Regions from separate parts of the Homo sapiens genome. Here regions 1, 2 and 3 are each linked to region 4. The links are contacts of gene promoters, found by promoter capture Hi-C in blood cells and fetal thymus (Javierre and others, 2016). All regions are on one chromosome and are shown on one strand. The core of a region is centred on a gene start or on the middle of the fragment in contact, and the rest is flanking DNA. Distances in the headings are between cores, read along the strand shown. Region 1 overlaps SUSD1 (sushi domain containing 1). Region 2 overlaps SUSD1 (sushi domain containing 1). Region 3 overlaps SUSD1 (sushi domain containing 1). Region 4 holds the start of SHOC1 (shortage in chiasmata 1).

Region 1 (3,296 bases), core at 778-3,277, 270 kb before region 4:
TTGGCATGTTGTGCAACCCTCACCACTGTGTATTTCCAAAATTTTTTCATCACCCCAAGGAGAACCTCTGTGACCATTAAGCAATATGTTCCCATTCCCTACATGCCCCCTCCACCCCCAGCAACTTCTTCTGTCTCTATGAATTTGCCTATGTTAGATTTTTCATCTAAGTGGAATGATAGAGAATCTGTCCTTTTGTGCCTGGTGTATTTCACTTAGCATGTTCTTCCACATTGTGGCATGTACAGAATAGGCTCCTCGCTTCTGAAATTAAAACTTTCTTTTTGATAGCCCTCACGAGGACCTCTTTTGTCCTGCTGTTTACTTGTTCCAATCATACCCCTTTTCTTCTTTTCAACATGTTTTCAGAGCCTCCCCTCCCGGAAGTAGAATTTTTTACGGTGCACAGAGGACCTCTACCACGCCTCAGACTGAGGAAAGCCAAGGAGAAAAATGGACCAATCAGGTCAGTAGCTGTCCTTTCTCCACGGTTGCCCAGTGATCCCCATGGAGTGTTTTGGAAACTTTGATTTTGGTGAGGAGAAGACTTCTGTGTTGGTGGCTGCACTTGGGTGGTTAGAACAATGCAGTTGGGGCCTCTTTTGTTTCCTTGGGTACAGACTGGCCTTTAATCCCAACCAGCATCCTTTCTAATGGTGAGAGAGACTTCTTTTTTTTAAAATTTAAATTTTATTTTTTATTTTTTTGAGATGGAGTGTCACTCCCATCATACAGGCCGGAGTACAGTGTTGCGATCTCAGCTCACTGCAACCTCCACCTGCTGGGTGCAAGTGATTCTCCTTCCACTGCCTCCTGAGTAGCTGGGATTATAGGTGTGCACCACCACACCTGGCTAATTTTTGTATTTTTAGTTGAGACGAGGTTTTGCCATGTTGGTCAGGCTGGTCTTGAACTCCTGACCTCAGGTGATCCACCAGCCTCAACCTCCCAAAGTGCTAGGATTACAGGCTTGAACCACCACACCCGGCCACATAGAGAGACTTCTAAAGGACCCTATATACAAGCATTTGGGCAGTTTAGCTCAAGAAATTACATCCATTCCTTTGGTCCCTGGGTAAACGTCGGTTGCATGTTAGGACATGTCAGGATTGTCCTTTGCACTCATGTCTCATAGTACATCCTTTATGGATGGTGGGTCAGGGGCATCGTTTCATTTCCCAAAGGCAGAATATGTTGCCCTTTATGTAAGGTTGATCTTGGGGGGTGTGCAGTGGTTTCTGAAAAGATCATTTAGGTAAATCTTTTTGTCTTTTCATGTATTGAGTTACAGGCAAGACACTGTATAATTAATGACTGCTTCTGGGATTCCAGATGGCATTAGGATGGAATTAATTTACCTCAGTTGGAGGACTACAGTGTGTTCAGTTAAGTGTTTTATTTGCAAAGGTCATGGCAGGATTAGGAAAGTAGCATCAGTCCCTTTTTTAGAGAGGAAGATTGAGGTTGGCGTGGAGAGATGAACAGCTTGCTCACAGTACCAGCTCAAGGAGATGAAAATGTACATGGCCTCACCAACATTGCCTTTGTCTCTGCTGACCCTTCGGTAAAATCAAGGTTAAAAAAAAAAAAGTGAGATATTATAAAATTACAAAAAAGAAAGTCTGGCGATATTATCTGTATATCCATTTATAATAAAACTTAGGGTTTTCCTGCTTTTATATTCATTTAAGTTCAGTAAATGTGCAAAGATCTTTCCAGGGATGGACATTGTATAAATTGTTCTGATTCTTGACAAGTTACCAGAAGGCATTGTAATTCTGTCATTATAAAGAGAACAGAAGTTGTGATGTCACTTCCTGAGAGCATTTGCAAGAACAAATGTGATATTTATGTCAAATAATGACATAATGCAAAAGAAAAGCCAAATGACAGCTTACCCTTGTGGCTATATGCCGGCCAGCGCCTCCAAAACAGGAAGTGGAGAACTGTGAGTCATTCGAGGGAGTGTGGTGGTGAAAAAGAGGAGAAAAGTCCTTCCAGAACAGTCATATTCCAAACAGCCACAGCTGCTTCTTTAACATCACATGGCTAATTACCAGCAGGCAGGGTGGTTTTCCTAAGCCTGACTACCTGGTTTGAGCTGGGGGGCAGCAGCTTTGCCAGTGTGTGAGACAGGCCTGAGTCTGCTTTGTGCACCATTTAGGGACAGTGTCTTGGGGTACATAATGGAGCAAGGTCCCTGGGACCAAGTCTCTGCTGAGGTTGCTGATGTTAGGCAGAGGATGGAGCCTGTTGCTGGGTTCCCTTAATGCTCGTGTCTCCCACATTGCCAGATTATAGGAATCACCTGGGAGCTTTACCAGCGATACAGATTCCCAGAATCTACTCCTAGAGATTTCGATTCAGTAGGTCGGTATGAGGTCGGGGAATTTGTATAATAATCAAGCAACACAGGTGATTACGGTCAGGCTAATTGGGGAGCTGATTCATACTCTGTCGATGATGCCTCTAGTGAGCAATGTACGGAACCAAATGGGCACAGGTGAGCCTCGACCTTGCTCTTGACCACCACCACCTGCATGGAAAGATGAGAGGGATTTAAAGATGTACTTATGGACCGCATGGAGGTGCTGCAACATTTACTTTCTTACCTGTGGCTATGATGTAGGGATGTCTTCAAGTCTCCCGGCAAGTTTGTTGTTACAGGTGTTCCCCATAGGCAGTGGATGCTTAATAAATGTTTACTGGTGGTGACAACTTATTGCCCTGTGGGTTTTACTTTATCTCTTTTGTAGAAAGCCCTTGGCTGAAAGTGAGCCAAGACTTTATGAAAATCAGGACCCTGGGCCAGGCACAGTGGCTTACGCCTGTAATCCCAGCCCATTGGGAGGCAGAGGTGGGCACACAGGGCAGTGATACGTGCAACAACTTCCCCCAGCTAAAGAGGTCAGGAGTTCAAGACCAGCCTGGCCAACATGGTGGAACACCATCTCTACTAAAAATACAAAAAAAATTAACCGGGCATAGTGGCGAGTGCCTGTAGTCTTGGCTACTCAGGAGGCTGAAGCAGAAGAATCGCTTGAACCTGGGAGGTAAAGGTTGCAGTGAGCTGAGATCACACCACTGCACTCCAGCCTGGGCAGCAGAGCAAGACTCCCTTCTTAAAAAAGAAAAGAAAAGAAAGAAAATCAGGGCCCTGAGGATACCTAGGATGTTTGGGAACCTGGTGGGGGGAGACTTTCCATATCCAACACCCACTGTGGAGGAGGGCTCCCTCTTCTTAACCTAGTGATTCATGGGCTCTTAGGAAGCAGGAGATAGGGCGTTTGACATGT
Region 2 (3,134 bases), core at 601-3,100, 280 kb before region 4:
GGGAAGACTGGGATGAACTTCTACTGGAAGAAATTAAGTAAGAACAAAAGGGTGTCTCTTGGCCGAAGTGTCAGGGTGGTTAAGGAAAGGGTAGGGTCACCAGAAGCTGGCAGGAAGAGGAGAAAAACTGTTCTCAGGTTCTAGCAGACCAGCTACGAGTATTCTAATTCAGGTCCTGCTTAGTTTGGATTCCTAATATTCTTTCTAGGAAAATGTTCTTGTCCTTGCTCCTGCAGTTTTGCCAATAGACTTTCTTGTTGTGTATGTGCACTGTATGTGTGAGAATAAGGAGAAAGCTGCCAGTATTGGGACCTTAGCCTTTTGTGTGTTTTTATTTAAAAATATATTTATTATACAAATAATATTTTAAGTACAATATTTATAGTATTGCAACTCTAATATTTGCTTACTGCTGCATTTCACCTTTTGAAGAAACATTAGAGTCCAGAGAGAGAGAGAGAGGAAGAAAGCTCATGAAAACGGGAAGGGGCTGGGCGCGGTGGCTCACGCCTGTGATCTCAGCACTTTGGGATTCGAGGTGGCAGATCACTAGAGCTCAGGAGTTTGAGACCAGCCTGGGCAACATGGCGAAACCCTGTCTCTACAAAAAATACAAAAATTAGCTGGATGTGGTGGCATGCATCTGTGGTCCCAGTTACTTGGGAGGCTGAGGAGGGAGGATCACTTGAGCCTGGGAGGTTGAGGCTGCAGTGAGCCGAGGTCATGCCACTGCACTCCAGCATGGGTGACAGAGTGAGGCCCCCATCTCAAAAAAAAAAAAAAAAAAAGAGAAAGAAAAAGGAAAAGGGGAGGTTTCAAGGCATCTAAAGCCTTTTAGGCCAACCATTCACCCAGTGAGCTTTTTTATGTTTCAGTTCCACATTTGGGGCCAGAGATGGTATCAGAAGGAATTTGCCCAGGAAATGACCTTTAATATCAGTAGCAGCAGCCGAGATCCCGAGGTGTGCTTGGACCTACGTCCGGGTACCAACTACAATGTCAGTCTCCGGGCTCTGTCTTCGGAACTTCCTGTGGTCATCTCCCTGACAACCCAGATAACAGGTAAATCTTGAATAACAGCATTTGGATTAACAAAGTTACCACAGAATTGTTCATAGGTCCTGATAAAGAGGAACACTGTTGCTTTTTATCATTATATAATGAACTTTAACAGGGAGAGGAGGAAGGACATGGAATTGGAGAGGTGCCTTAAGGCGCCTCTGTGACTGTTATGTTTCATTCTTTTTTCTTTTTTTGAGGCAGGGTCTTGCTCTGTCGCCCAGGCTGGAGTGCAGAGGCACGATCATGGCTCACTGCAGCCTTGACCTGGGCTTAAATGATCCTCCTGCCTCAGCCTCTTGAGTAGCTGGGATTATAGTTGTATAGGCCACCATGCCTGGCTAATTTCTGTATTTTTTGTAGAGACGGGGTTTCACTATGTTGCCTAGGCTGGTCTCGAACTCCTGGGCTCAAGCAATCCACCTGCCTCGGCCTCCCAAAGTGCTGGGATTACAGGTGTAAGCCACTGCGCCCAGCCTGTTATGTTTTATTTTTAAAAAGATACCTAATAACCACAGGGGAGGTCTGTGGGGAGGGGGAGGGGGAAGATACCTGAAACAAAATGTCAGCATTGATGAAATGTGGGTAGTGTGTCCATCCATGGTGTTGGTTGTATAGCTTCTGGATATTTAAAGCATTTAAAATACTTTATACTTAAACAAAAAATGCTTGTGGCTCTTTCTTTCTCAGGAATATTTAGTTGGCATCCTGTTGCAAGTACTTTAAGAGTAGATTACTAGCTAGGCACAGTGGCTCAAACCTGTAATCCCAGCACTTTGGGAAGCTGAGGAGGGTTGATCATGTGAGGATCATTTCGAGATCAGCCTGGCTGACGTGGTGAAACCCCACCTCTACTAAGAATACAAAAATTAGCTGGGTGTGGTGTCAGGTGCCTGTAATCCCAGCTACTCGGGAGGCTGAGGCAGGAGAATTGCTTGAACCCAGGAGGTGGAGGTTGTGTTGATCTGAGATCGCACTCCAGCCTAGGCAACAAGAGCAAAACTCCATCTCAAAAAAAAAAAAAAAAAAAAAAAAAAAAAAGTAGATTACTATCAGGGGACAATGATTGTAGTCCTCCGGCTATAGGGCCCCAGTAAATTCACTTTCCACTCATTTTCTCCTCCCTCTTCACATCTGTGACCCCCACTTCACACATGCTCTGAGCAAATACTAAGCATATTAGCTTCTTGATTCTTATTTCACTGAGAAATTAGAAGTAGTCAGGTGAGGACTTCCCACGCTCAGCCCTGCCGTTCCTCCTTGCATCCTGTTCTGCCTCCCTTCCTGTCCCTGCTCGTGTGTAAGGCTGCCATCCCCTCAACTTGTGCCTTAGATCCCATCCCTTCTTCCCTGATCAGCACTTCCCCTCAATACAGAATTATCCCCAGCATTGCCTAGCATGTTGCAACATCCTCCTTGTGAACGAAAAGAAAGAAAAAATGAGCAGACCTTCTTTGAGCCCATATTTGTCTTCAGCTACTTTGCCTTCTCTCTGCCCCTTTCTATAAAAACTCCTTGAAAGAAATGGCTGTTCTGTAGGCTCCACAGCCCTACCTCCTGTTCTCACTTTCACTCATCCCACGTGGGAAACATACGTCTTCATTGCTTTACTGAAAGGCTCTTCGTTTGATCTCCGTCTTGCCAAATCCAATGGCCAGTTTTGTTCTTATCTGATTTCTTCGATAGCGTTGACACTCCCTCCCTCTTGAAACCCCCTCTCCCTTAGTTTTGGTTCCTTCTGCCTTGCTGTCCCCTCTCAGTCTTCTTTGCTAGCTCCATCTACTTTTATGACCCCTCTTCAGCCTCCTTTTCTTCATTATCTACCCTTTCTGCTTAGGTGATCTCAACCAGTCTTATGGCTATAACTATTACCTATATGCAGAGGATTTCCAAAGATCAATTTCTAGTCCCAGCCTCTCCTTTGAGCACCAGACTCCTATATCCACCCAACTTCTACACATGTCCTATTGAACATCTAATACGCAAATCAAACGGAACTTGTGATTTCTCACCTCTGCCCTCGCCCCCAAATCGGTTTCCACCCAGGCTTCTCTGTTTCTATCTGTTACTTTCTG
Region 3 (3,007 bases), core at 380-2,879, 300 kb before region 4:
CGAGATTGCGCCACTGCACTTCAGCCTGGGCAATAGAGCAAGATCTCCTCAGATAAAGAAATAAGAATAAATAAATCCACCTCTCCTTGTAAAATAAACTAAAATGTAAAGGCATGAAGTCCCCAGTTTTTTCTATCCTACATCTTTTCTGCTGAGTCTTGGCCAGAGTGTCCTGCTGAGTGGAGAGTGTGTTCTAGCTGTTGAAACCTAGGAATCTTGTTTTGTAATAGATGCTACTCCTTTGGTGTATAGGAGACTGGCAAATGCTGAGGTTTTGAGGCAGGCACATACTTGGCATATTCTAGGAATGTCATGGAAACCAGTATGGCTGGAGCAGAGAGCTGGGGACAGTGGTGAGAGATGAGGTCTAAACTCTAGCATGAGTATAATAAATGAGAGGCCCATGGTGTCAGGTTCAGAAAGAAGCCTGTTGTTACCTTCTCCTTTGCCTCCCTAAATTACTAGTAGTAAGTATAATGTAGCATGCCATAGTTCAGCCTCTGTAGGTTACCAAGCAGTCTGGAGTCTACCACGTGTCAATTTAAACTTAAATTGGGAAATGTCTTCTCGTCAGGGTAGTTGGATTCATTTTGACACTGTACTCTCCTTGAAAATTTTAGACATTTGCAGTGGTGGCTCTAGGTCTTTCTTGATGCCCGTTCCAAAGATTAAAACCTTTCCATTTTCGTTGCTCCCTTGAGCCCTATTTCTACCCAAGCTTCACCATTGCTGAAGATCTTTATCTGTTTAGTGAAAGAGTCTCCCTTCTTTCTGGGCAGGACACCCCACATTTATCTTAGGAAACTCTTCAAGTGAAATGCATCATCTTGCATGCTTCCTTCCCTGTCTCCATTTCTGACTCTTTTCTCTGAATTTCTCTAAACCCAGAAAGATCCCCCAAATTGTTTTAGTTCTGGACTCCACAGGCTCCTATTATTGAATGTCTGCCTGTGAGTCCTACTTCCTGGTTAGGAGATTTTCCCTTTTGTCTCCCATGGGGAATTACCCTCAGCTGATCTGTGAGCTGCTGTTGGGTTTCCAGAACCTGAACTTTCACTGGTCTGATGAGGTCCAGGAAACCCCCTGGGCTAGTGGCATTTCGCCCAAGCCCTACCTTCTTGGAATTGAATTTCCAAGACTTAAATGGTCGGTGCTTCTTTGATGGAAACTGAAACACTTCTTGCTCCCGCTTCCTTTTCTGTATCAGAGAGATAAGCCTGCAATGTTCAAGGTCCCTCTGAGAACGTTCTTACTTAGCAGGTCCTGCTCAGCTCTAAGCCTTTACCCTTCCATTTAAGTTGTTTCTGTTCCGTCTTTATTGCCAGGTAGGACTCATACCTTTTGCTAGGTCTTAGTACTTTTCCTTCTCTATATTTGCTTTTTGTTTTCAGACTTAGATTTTTGTTCTCCTCACATATTACTTTGGAATCTGCCTCCGAGGTCTCTGTAGAGAAAGAATGATGTCACAGAGCTCTCGACCTGCCATAAACATCCAGTGTTAAAATACCTTCTTCCCACTTTCATTTTCACTAGGAGGCATTTCTTTCTATTCAGTTCGGCCTAAACCCAGGCCTGGGCTTTATCAATTTTCATTCTCCCTGGACCTTGTTTAATACAGCTCTATTTCCCAGGCAGATGTCCTTATAGCCGGTGCAATACCTGTTGCCCCATCTTACAAAAACAATGCCACCTTGAAACTCACTTAGTGATGCTTGAAGAATTCTACACTGATCATTCACTGATGATTCTCTTTTTAAACATGTTCACATTTCTTTAACTATAGAGTATCACAGTTCCAGTTATTAAGGAAGAAACGAAGAGTTCTCATTAATGCCTATTCTCGCTCCCCTATTTAAAACTTTTCCTTGTCATATTTTTCTAACTGGGCCAATATGATTTCAAATTTTCTTCTTAGTGTTATTTCCTTCACTTTGTTTCATTCCTCCTAATCTTATCGTTTCTCCCTAATCTTATCCTGTCTGCAAGACCAAAACCTGTTTTGTAAACTGACTTCATTCTATTTTCAGAGATGGGGAAAATCTCATTTCTAGGAACAGAGTTCTAGGTGTACACTTTTTGCTATTTCTTTTTAGCATTTGAGTTTGTAATAATTCCACTGGACTTTTTTTCTACTTTAGCCCCCAAAGAGTTTCTTATCTAGAATCCCCGGTCTGAGTTTCTGTGAAACAGATCATCCAGGGCCATTTAAAAGCCCTTGGTGTGGGGGTGAACTCAGCCTGTGGAGAAACCGTGGATCCAGTCTTTCTACAGTTCTCTCCTTAGCCCTGGATGAAATTCCAAACAATATAAAGAGAAATGGAATTTTGGCAAGCTAATCTAATGTTGTCTACTAATATCTAGCTCCCCAAAATGCTCTTTAAAACCTCCCACCATTGCTCCCTTTGTGCATCTTAAACTTTAGCAAGTGTAATGATTACCTGGAGAGCTTATGAAAACACTGGTTCCTGGGCCCCATCCCAGAGGTTCTGATTCAGTAGGCCTTTGGGGAGGGGAGCAAATTTTCATTTCTAGCAAGCTTTCAGGCCTTATTGATATTGTCAGTCCACATTTTGAGTCGCATTGCTCTAACCACATAAACCTTAGCTACTTCCGGGCAATGTCAAAGCTCTTGCAGGCGGAGACATAATAAGAAAAGAAAGACTGAAATAAAAAAAAAGTGGTAGCTAAAATAATTCCATCTGCTCCTGCCTAAAAAGCCTATGTCTTAGAGCTTTGTCTGATTTGCAAAGTTTTCCTGGTAATCAGATATCTACCTACCTCATCTGTTCCTGAATTCCAGCTGCAGAGACCAGGAGCTCTCATCTTCCATCATGGTGCCTTGCTCCGCTGTGGCAGCTCTTATCTTTATACTCAAGGCCCCAGTCAGTATATCTGTCTTTTGCAGGGAGATACTGAATCTTACCTCTCCTTTCCATCTGAGATTAACAGGACAAACAGATAGATAAATGACAAATAGAGGATCAACTTTATTGATCTGGGCAAGTTT
Region 4 (3,353 bases), core at 50-2,549:
CTGATACGGAATCTTGCTCTGTCCCCCAGGCTGGAATGCAGTGGCATGATCTCGGCTCACTACAACCTCCGCCTCCGGGTTCAAGCGATTCTCCTGCCTCAGCCTCCCAAGTAGCTGGGATTACAGGGGCATGCCACCACACCCGGCTGATTTTTTTTTTTTTTTTTTTTTTTGTATTTTTAGTAGAGATGAGGTTTCACCATGTTGACCAGGCTGGTCTCGAACTCCTGACCTCAGGTGATCCACCCACCTCAGCCTCCCAAAATGCTGGGATTACAGCGTGAGCCACCAGGCCCGGCCAATTTTTGTAACTTTTACAAAGATATTTAATTTAAAATTGATTTTAATAAAAGGTAGACATCCAAGAACACAGGATGATTAATGCACTTCAATGTTAGGTGAATATCTTTAAAACTGATTATTGTCAAACATTAAATCCATATAACCGAAGCAAACTGCACACACCTGTACAAAATAAAGGAAGTAACTTAAGAAAATAAAGTGACTTATCCACTGACATTTCACAATTAGTATTTGAACAATCAACTCAAAAGACACCCATGTGTTAGTAAAGTAAATAAATGCATGTTACTTCTTGCAATCTTCTGGGAAGGAGTTTAATGCCAAGCCGTTTCATGGAAAAGACAGGAGTTAAGAAATATGGAGGAAAGAATAATTATTCCTCATCAGGCGAGTCTGGCGATACCTAAATGTGTGTATGTAAGGGAGTGGCTTTAATTAAGGTATAGAATCCACATGTGCCAATTGAAAAGCAGTATCTTCCTGCCCCTCCTCAAAAGTTCTTCTGCTACCAAGCCATGACCCACACCTAGCCAGACCCCTGAGGCACGTTTGCCTCCTCTCTCTTGCCTTCCTCTTTCCCTGAATCTGTCTGATTGCTAAATCCTCCCACCCTTACCTCTGAAAGGCTTCTGCCCTCGCCCTCCGGCTAACCCTGCCGCGTTTTGCCCGGCCTCGCTAACAACATGGGAGCCGCCACTCCCAAAGAAGTCCGGACTGCTTTGCCGGGTCTTCCCAACCCTTCACAACCAGCTCTTTCTAGCCTCACGCCGACTTCTCCACCGTCACACTCCGCCCAGTGTTATGAGGGTTCTGCTCACTCCCGAGGACCTCGGCGCTGCCCAGGCTGCAGCCTCGAATCCCCACAATCCTTACCTCCCTAGGCTGTGCCCACTCGCGGACGGAAGTGCCCGGAGCCCAAGGGGCGGGGCCTGGTCTGGCCAATGGAAGCACAGAGTGCAGGCTCAGTGGTCACGTGTCCAGCGGGCGGGAATTTTACCCCAGGAAGAGATGCAGGAGGCGATTTTTACCTCAGGTAAGAGCCCTGAGAGGCTGGAGGCAGGAGAGAGGGTGATTTTGAGGGCTGAGGGGAGGAAAAGGTCGTATGGGACCAAAGAAGTATGGCAGCTCAGGAATCTCTGGAAAACGCATCTGTGAGGCCCGGCCGATGTGGCTCTGTAGAGACAAAACCCCAGACCCACTGTCCACTTAACCTGAGAATAGAAGGTGTGAAGGTCTCAGAGATGCTGGTGGGATTTCAGCCCATCAACTAGAAGTTGTATGGGCTAAACAATAAGGGAAAATAGGTGCACCTCGCCTTCTCTGCCATGTTACGTTTTTTTGTCTGTTTTAAGACAGGGTCTCGCTCTGTTGCCCAGGCTGGCGTGCAGTGGCACGATCTCGGTTCACTGCAACCTCTGCCTCCCGAGTTCAAGAGATTCTCCTGCCTCAGCCTCCAGAGTAGTTGGGACTACAGGCGTCCTCCACCACGTCTGGCTAATTTTTATATTTTTAATAGAGACGGGGTTTTGCCATGTTGACCCGGCTGGTCTCGAACTCCTGACCTCAAGTGATCCACCCGCCTCGGCCTCCCGAAGTGCTGGGATTACAGGTGTGAGCCACCACTTCCGGCGGATCTTATTATTTTTTTTTTTTTAAGTGGGTTTTTATGCGAGGGAGTGAAGAAGGCAGAAAGCTCCTGATGCCTTAGGCTGGTGGGGAGAGGTGGGAAGCCAGCCCGAAGATTCACACTCACCTGTGAGTGCTTTTAAATAATCTTGGGGCCTGGCATATGGTGGCTCAGGCCTGTAATCCCAGCACTTCGGGAGGCTGAGGCGAGAGGATTGCCTGAGCTCAGGAGTTCGAAATCAGCCTGGCCAACATGGCGAAACCCCGTCTCTATTAAAAATACAAAAATTAGCCGGGCATGGTGGCACCCGCCTGTAATCCCAGCTACTCGGGAGGCTGAGGCAGGAGAATCGCTTGAACCCGGGAGCTGGAGGTTGCAGTGAGCCAAGATCGCACCATTGCACTCCAGCCTGGGGACAGAGGGAGACTCTGTCTCAAAAAATTATTTGATTAATTAATTAAATCATCATCATCATCATCATCATCTTGGGAAAGCTTACTTCCTGGCCTTGTGCCTGACCTCATTATCGTGTGCATTTCCATTTTGGTCCAGTAGTCCAGTAGATGTTTGTTAGGAAGTAGCACAAAAGAAATAAAATCTTTAGAAAAAGGTAAAAAAAAAAAAAATTCGAGAATTGCTGCAATTCAAAACTTGATAATTTTAAATTACCCTCTCTCTAACCATGATTTTGTTCATTTCCTCATATCTTTGGTTTTAGAAATAAGAGCAATGTATCGTTTTTGCTTCCACCCACCACTATTAGATGGATTCGATATCTGTATTACAATGAAATAAACTTGATAAACGGGATTCTAAGCATGTATATAACATATGGCATCTTATTAAGTAGTACATATTTAGCATGAATTTCAGTGGTTGACTTCAATACAAAAGTAATTATTTCTTAAGGTAATTGGTGAGAGTGATAGAAATACTAGGCTTCACAAGAAAAGAAAAGTTAATATAAATGCTGACAATAAGCTGAATGGGTAAAGTCAGTAAAGTTGAGTTTGTTGTTAACTTTTTGCAATGGCTTTTAGAATGAGACAATCAGTTTTTTCTGAAAGTGCAACACCAAGAAATGGAAGTTCTAGAATCAATATTTGCTTGAAAGATCAGTGACAGGCCGGGCGCGGTGGCTCACGCCTGTAATCCCAGCACTCTGGGAGACCGAGACGGGCGGATCACAAGGTCAGGAGATCGAGACCATCCAGTCTAACACGGTGAAACCCTGTCTCTACTAAATATACAAAAAATTAGCCGGGCGTGTTGGCGGGCGCCTATAGTCCCAACTACTCAGGAGGCTGAGGCAGGAGAATGGCGTGAACCTGGGAGGCGGAACTTGCAGTGAGCTGAGATCCGGCCACTGCACTCCAGCCTGGGGGACAGAGCGAGACTCCGTCTCAAAAAAAAAAAAAGATCA

Evidence for each region. The method cuts DNA at HindIII sites, captures the fragments that hold promoters and counts their contacts. A CHiCAGO score of 5 or more calls a contact.
Region 1: a contact is called between a fragment that was not itself captured here and the fragment with the promoter of SHOC1 in region 4, in 1 of 17 cell types (activated CD4 T cells). The highest score is 5.0, in activated CD4 T cells.
Region 2: a fragment that was not itself captured here is called in contact with the fragment with the promoter of SHOC1 in region 4 in 10 of 17 cell types (activated CD4 T cells, endothelial precursors, total CD8 T cells and 7 more); the score reaches 11.7 in activated CD4 T cells.
Region 3: a contact is called between a fragment that was not itself captured here and the fragment with the promoter of SHOC1 in region 4, in 1 of 17 cell types (activated CD4 T cells). The highest score is 7.4, in activated CD4 T cells.

The regions. Positions count from the first base shown.
Region 1 is chr9:112,060,107-112,063,402 of GRCh38, reverse strand. SUSD1 (sushi domain containing 1) reads left to right here. Exons shown (of 17, transcript NM_022486.5): 13 at 370-466. Among named protein-coding and RNA genes, the nearest start is that of LINC02977, 21 kb to the right of the region's middle. The HindIII fragment of the contact is 6,397 bases long and covers 1-3,296 here.
Region 2 is chr9:112,076,466-112,079,599 of GRCh38, reverse strand. SUSD1 (sushi domain containing 1) reads left to right here. Exons shown (of 17, transcript NM_022486.5): 12 at 876-1,062. Among named protein-coding and RNA genes, the nearest start is that of LINC02977, 38 kb to the right of the region's middle. RefSeq lists an enhancer at 2,410-2,509. The HindIII fragment of the contact is 5,993 bases long and covers 1-3,134 here.
Region 3 is chr9:112,093,603-112,096,609 of GRCh38, reverse strand. All of the region lies in intron 10 of SUSD1 (sushi domain containing 1), which reads left to right. Among named protein-coding and RNA genes, the nearest start is that of LINC02977, 55 kb to the right of the region's middle. RefSeq lists an enhancer at 927-1,096. The HindIII fragment of the contact is 1,818 bases long and covers 721-2,538 here.
Region 4 is chr9:111,792,883-111,796,235 of GRCh38, reverse strand. It overlaps SHOC1 (shortage in chiasmata 1), which reads left to right and starts at 1,299. Exons shown (of 28, transcript NM_001378211.1): 1 at 1,299-1,336. It overlaps LOC124902249 (a long non-coding RNA gene), which reads right to left and starts at 18. Exons shown (of 2, transcript XR_007061734.1): 1 at 1-18. The HindIII fragment of the contact is 10,914 bases long and covers 1-2,426 here.